2 separate regions of the Homo sapiens genome follow, and region 1 is linked to region 2. Evidence: promoter capture Hi-C in 16 types of primary human blood cells and fetal thymus (Javierre and others, 2016). All regions are on one chromosome and are shown on one strand. Each heading gives the region's core, a stretch centred on a gene start or on the middle of the fragment in contact. The rest is flanking DNA. Distances are from core to core; before and after follow the strand shown. Region 1 holds the start of ACADM (acyl-CoA dehydrogenase medium chain). Region 2 holds the start of ATG4C (autophagy related 4C cysteine peptidase).

Region 1 (3,250 bases), core at 90-2,589, about 13 Mb before region 2:
AAAGGTTGCTATTACCAGAATACAATGCCCATCAACCTGTTAATTACATAACAAAGTTAGCCAGTTAATTAGAGAGGTGGTTTGCAAATAGAAAACAGAAACAGCACGGGATCTGGAGTTATAATTGCTGAATGTGAATCTAGGTTCCACAACCATATTTGTGGCCGTAGACAGGTTTACAAACTGCTTATAGCTTCCGTTCAAAACCAAAAAATGGGACTAATCTCACTGCGTATTTTCGGACGATTAAAGTACGATAATGTTTTGAAAGCCTAATGCTATATAACTATTGGTTTTATTACTTCGGGCTCTCTGTCTAGAACAATGAAATTCCAAATATCGAAACAGCACCACTAGAATTGAACACTTTTGTGCATTTCTTGGGAATATAAGAGTGTCAGTTTTATGGGTTAAAGAAGAGAAAAAGGGTGTAAGTTTTCTATATCAGGTTTTTTTTAGATCCTTCCTTGGAGGTTGAGAAATCTGCTTTTCTGGTGTAGGAGTTAAAAATAGCTGAAATCTCCCAATTTCTGCCTTCACTGCACATTAACTTGCATAACACCAGCAAAACATGGGCAGCAATTCTTTAGGATTATTCTAAAACCGCAGCTTTTTTGGTCCAAGACATAACTTTAACTTAATTTTAAGTGACATCTAAATGGCAGTGGTGTGAACATATCAAGAATATTTAAGATACCAAAATTCATCTAGTGACAAACTTATTTAGAATCTATTAAGATCCAATACTAGAATATACACACAAGTTCACATAAAATTCTGCAGGTTTTTTTTTTACTTTTTTTTTTCCCGTAAGCAACGTGGAAACGTTACAACGAAAAGCTTATTAAACATTAAGTATTTCAAGGAGTAGCTGCTCCATTTTTCTTTTTCCCGTGGTTCTGACACAGAGACGGGGTCACTTTGGAAAAAGGTGGGATTCCCGCGGTAAATATTTGGAGGGTTTACCAGAGAAAGAAAAACGATATTCTAAAGAGAGGATGCCGGCTATAACGGGGTCGCCTGACGGGAGGATACGGAAAATGAAACGCTAGGCTACGTTCCGTCCGGTGGTAGGAGGCGTGAAAGCAGGTTGGGGGCCCCTAGGCTGGCTCCTTCCTCAGCCCGACTTCCCACTCCTCCCGGCCGCACCTATTTTTGGCCCAGGGCCCCCTGCTCCGACACCACAATACCCATGTTCCAGCCCCACCGCACCGCTGGGCTCCCTCTCACCCTGCAGCATCGCCCGAACCCCGCTGCCATGTTGGCTCCCGTTCCGGCCACTCGGACAATAATACACGGGTCACGGCCTTGACATACTCCCCGAACGCGGGACTCCTCTGGTCCCGCCCACTGGAGCCCGTGGGCGGGATGGGGCGGGGCGGGAAGAGGCGGTTGGGCTGCGGAAGGACGGGGCGCTGCGCTAGGCGGGGTGGCAGCGGTCCCCGGCGCCGGGTAGCCAACGCATGCTCCGTGACCCTTGCGTGCGCCGTCGCTGCGACCTGGGGAGGGGTCGCATCCCCTCTCCGGGCAATCTCTGATAGTCCTGGTTTGGTTTTCTGCGTTTCCACCTCTGGCCCTCTCTGTGGGACGCCGAGGCTGACCGCAGCGCGGAAAGAGAGCCAGGGCGGGGGAGGGGGACGGCGGCGGGGCTGGGAGGGCCCGGTTGCGCTGAACGGTGGGGGGACTTGCGGCGCGGTGCAGGACGGGAACCTGGGTTAGAGGGCGTGGCTGGGGCCTGGAGGGAGAGCGGCCCCCGTGGTCAGCCTTCACCTTTACCCGGAGAGAACGGTCAAACCCAGATCGTGTCTGCTTGGCGGATTCAAAGTATTAGTACATTTTGCTCTCAAATGCCCTACCTAAAGCGAAAGCATACTTGTGTTTCCTTAAAATTTAAAAGAGAATTTAATTGTTTAGGTAAATTTGACCTTTCCGCGTATTCCCAAGGCTGTTTATGACTTGTCCGCTGATGTGGTGTCCTTGGATATGCGGGTGCAATCCGAGGCTGTCCAAAGCTCCTGGTTCAGCGAATGATGGAAGTGAATGTCTCCCTGAGGAATTCTACCTGGAGTCACTTTCTCTTCCAGTGAGACCCTGAGTTTTGAGATGGTAGCTTATACTAAATCTTATACTAACTTAACATTTTCTTTTGCCCAATAAAGGTCACCCATAAATTCATCTAATTTAGCTGTTAAAATTCTATATCCTGTTATTGTATTCCCCTACTTTGTCTTCTGGGAATTTATAGTGTGTTAGTCCTAGGTACAAGGCAGAATGTTAATTAAGCGCTATATTCAAAGTGAAAGTACCAGGAAAATTCGGAAAAGGGATAAAGAGCTGAGTTTGTCCTGGTATAGGCAAGAAAGCCTTCAAAGTGGTGGTGGTAAGTAAAACACAAAGCGGACTCTTAAAGATGATTAGGAATTGTCTATTCATGTCTCCTTTGTTCCAATTTCTTATTCTGAACATTTTAAACACAGAAAAGATGAACGAAAAGCACAAAATCACCCATATGCCTATTGTAACCCCTTCTTACTGTACACGTGGCTGGCAGAGAAGCGAAGATGGAGCCCTCATCTTAAACATGTCTAGTCGGTAGTTCCTGCCACCATTCACCCAAGCAAGCTACCCCCTTGTTTGTCTGTGCCTGCAGCTCGACTTCACAGGCTGCTCTTAGAAAAGGATTTGGGGCTGCTTTTCATTAAAAAGAAAAGCCTTACTGATGTTGGGAACGGGCGCTCAGTGTTGCAAAAATCAACACTGAGACAAAGGAGCTCTTAGCAAGGCTAGTTTACTTTCTGCAGAAAGGTTGCCGCTCGCTAGTAGTCTTGCCACGAGAGCACACACGCATAAAGGAGACAGGGTCATTTATAACCTGACACGTGCACCCTACTACCGTGTCCGGTTTCCATTGGCTGGAAGGGGACCTCTGTACTTGTCCTGATTGGCTAGCAACTTAGAACTTTCCAAAAGAGGCAAAGACAGAGGAGAACAAAGGAAGGAGGAAGCAACTTGTGGAATGCTGAGAAAGGTAAAAACACCTCCAGATAAGGAAGAAAACAGGCTATGGCCTAATGCTTCCTTGGACCAGTATAAGCATGCCAGGGCAAATATCTAGGCTAAAATGTGGCAGCTAAGAGCACAAAGTACATTGATTTCTTTATTACGGCCAACAGATATCAAAGAATGTTAGTGTGGCCAACTGCCACGGTTACTACTTGAGACCATCGTTACAGCAGTTACTACTGTTACT
Region 2 (3,281 bases), core at 600-3,099:
TTAAATAGTAAGTAGTCACTAAATTCCTACTAAATGAATAAAATCTCAGGAAAAATATTAAAAGATTGAGTAATGGCTACCGTATCATTTTTTTCAATAAAAAATTATATGAGTAAATTTATTCTGAAATATATTTCGCCCCAAATCTTAAGCATGGCTGAAACCATTTCAGCATTTTGTGCATTAATTAGGAATAATCCCAATTTAACATTGTACCAGTATTAATATTTATATTTTACTGACATGTATAGATCATACTTGATAGCTTAAAAAAGAATGATAATCTTAGTATAAGAACCTCTTTAGTGCAATAATTGGAATAGAAAACGAGCTGCAAACTCATTTGAGTTACGTGGTTCCCCAGAAAGCCAGAAAATTTCTGCCTTTTTATAAAACATTAGTGAACAGAATACGATGCTGTTCACCAGAACCATCAAAACATCTAGAAATACTTCATAACCAATCACCATAAATACATTTTTCCAAATACTTGAATCCTATTTTAAAGAAAAAGAGCATTAATTAAATGGCTTTTAATGACTTTTTGCTAAATTATACAATTCTTTAGATGGGCCACTTTTTGACATGTGGTTCTAAAAATTTTATAGCGAATGAACTGGTAATTCAATATAGCCTCAGATTATTGGACTAAATAGAAACTCTTCCTGTTCAAAGAAGAAGCTTTATCAATTTGAAACTCAGAAAATACATAGACTTTACCTTTCAAAGCCTTTCCACTCCCTCTGGGTATTCTCAATGGCTCATAATCTAATTACAAGTCACAAGCAAGCAAGAAGATCATTCCCTTGTCTCTTTCTGCCATCAACTGACACAAAATCATTGCCAAAAACCCACCGGGGACATATGGTCCGAGCAGGAAAACATAAGAAAACTCCTAAGTAATTCGGATATAAAAAGATGTAAGACGAGGTATTCTTCTGTAACTATAGGGTAGCAGTGAGCCCCATGTGGGTAAATAACCAATACAAAACGAAAAGGTAAGCCAAAGAAATCACAAGAAATATAAACTCAATAAGCAGTGATGCTGAGTTGACCGCTGAAGGTTCTCATATATGAATATAGTCATCATATGTAAGAATTTATTCTACACCTCCAACCTCAAAAGCCCTTAGATGTGGGTAGGGTTGGGAGAGTTCACGGTGAGCGGGAACCAAATGAAGTGAATGAACGTTAATATTTAGATGGAAAGGCATTAATATATGCAAGGCAGTGTGTTATGGCTTGAAGCAGTAACAAACACCAAAAAGGGAGAAAGAGGCTAGGAATGAGAACAGAGAGACAGTGGGGATCCAGTTATTATTATTATTTCCCTTTTTTTATTTTTTAAACGAGGAAAAACAGGGCCGACAGAGCACTGGCATGAGGAGGGGTCAAATGGATGCGATAGATCAGGGGAAAGAGTCTTGCCTGCAACATCTAAGAAAACCACAAGGAAAGGAGGAACAGCTGCCCACAGTTAGGCTTACGGTTTATCTCTGCAACCCAGGACAAAGCGAGGAAGAGTTAGAAGACAAATGACACTAGAAAGGAGAGACAAGGAAGGCGCCAAAACCCTCAGAGAACCCAGATGGTTGGCCACAGGGTCTTCACTGAAGGCGGACCCCCGCAAGAAACCCAGTCATTCGGGGACCAGAGACGCTAAGTCCCAAACTTCTTGACTCCTTTAGCCTCAAGCCGATCCCTCACCGAAAGAGAAGGACTGGAGAACTGTAAAAATGTGCAGGAGCCACCAACCCGGCAAATGCTCCAGCTCTAGCAGCAGCCGCCACAAAACCAGCCCGCACACACGCAGACGTTCCGACCTCAGCGCCGCAGCTACAGGTACTTTGAGCACCCCGGCCACCGTAGTAAGAGGAACCGCCTCCGCGTCAAATCCAACAGATCAGCCACTTCCGGGATACGAAAGCCTTGCGATTGGCAGTAGCGATAGCAGCGGCGTAAAGGCCTCTGCTATGCTTACTTTATCCATCCCTTTTTCCCACCTGTTCGCCACCCCAAGCCGCTAATCCACCAATGCAGCAAGCGCAGAACCAAGAGAAAGTATCCGTCTGTGAGCATTGTCTCTCTGATAGACAAACCACATTACGGCTGCCATAAATTCCTCTCGAGCACTTGGACTTCAACTACCAGCAGGCCATGCAGCATCACGCCCTTGCCTCTGGCGTAGGAACTGCAAGATCCAGCATGCATTGCGGCCCTCCTTCCTCGCACTCAGGACCAAGATAGAGCCAACCCAAGCCTCACTTTGATTTAAAAAAAAAAAAAAAAAAAAAGCCAGGATGCCTTCTTTTCCTGTTGTGAAGGAACTCTAAGCCAAGCCATTATTAGGACTGTAGGTTATTTATAAAACATCAAGGGATATGTGCACTCATTTTCCATATTCAGATTATTTTCAAGCATTAAAACACAGGACAGTCGGGCGCGGTGGTTCGCGTCTGTAATCCCAGCACTTTGGGAGGCCGAGGCGGGTGGATCGCTTGAGGTTGGGAGTTCGAGACCAACCTGGCCAACATGGTGAAAGCCCGTCTCTGTTAAAAAATTAAAAAATTAGCCGGGCGTGGCGGCGGGCGCCTGTAATTCCAGCTACTCGGGAGCCTGAGGCAGGAGAATTGCTTGAACCCGGGAGGCAAAGGTTGCAGTGAGCAGAGATCGCGCCACTGCACTCCAGCCTGGGCGACAGAGCGAGGCTTTGTGGGGAAAAAAAAAAAAAAAAGAAGGAAAAGAAAAAGAAAGAAAGAAAAAAGGACGGTCCGAAGATGCTTTTTATAACGTGGAAATTTTTGGCCAGGCGCGGCGGCTGACGCCTGTAATCCCAGCATTTTGGGAGGCCGAGGCGGGCGGATCACTTGAGCCCAGGAGTTCCAGACCAGCCTGGCCAACATGGTGAAATCCCGTCTCTACTAAAAATATAAAAAATTAGCCGGGTGCGGTGGCGCGCGCCTGTAGTCCCAACTACTCAGGAGGCTGAGGCGGGAGAATCGCTTGAACTCGGGAGGCGGAGTTTTCAGTGAGCCAAGATTGTGCCTCTGCACTCCAGCCTGGGCGACAGAGCAAGACCCTGTCTCAAAAAAGTAAAAATAAATAAATAAATAAATAAATAAGTGGAAATTTTTATCTTCACTCCTAAATGATGTCAAGAGAAATACTGTTACTGTAAAATGTAATCCTATGCCGTTTTACAGTACCGCAGATTTTGTTGGAGCAAGGACTACCAGACATGCTTCTGAATTACATAGGAAATTATACTAAAAACTAAAAAT

The links. Contacts are between HindIII fragments. The CHiCAGO score rates a contact against its expected background, and 5 or more counts as called.
Region 1: a contact is called between the fragment with the promoter of ACADM here and the fragment with the promoter of ATG4C in region 2, in 1 of 17 cell types (non-activated CD4 T cells). The highest score is 7.5, in non-activated CD4 T cells.

The regions. Positions count from the first base shown.
Region 1 is chr1:75,722,798-75,726,047 of GRCh38, reverse strand. It overlaps ACADM (acyl-CoA dehydrogenase medium chain), which reads right to left and starts at 1,339. Exons shown (of 12, transcript NM_000016.6): 1 at 1,231-1,339. The coding sequence starts at 1,260. It also overlaps a transcript of SLC44A5 not described here. RefSeq lists enhancers at 1,124-1,213, 1,864-1,953 and silencers at 1,344-1,393, 1,444-1,493. The HindIII fragment of the contact is 3,396 bases long and covers 843-3,250 here.
Region 2 is chr1:62,782,700-62,785,980 of GRCh38, reverse strand. It overlaps ATG4C (autophagy related 4C cysteine peptidase), which reads right to left and starts at 1,849. Exons shown (of 11, transcript NM_032852.4): 1 at 1,708-1,849. RefSeq lists a silencer at 1,369-1,663 and enhancers at 1,639-1,818, 1,939-1,998, 2,099-2,148. The HindIII fragment of the contact is 3,523 bases long and covers 684-3,281 here.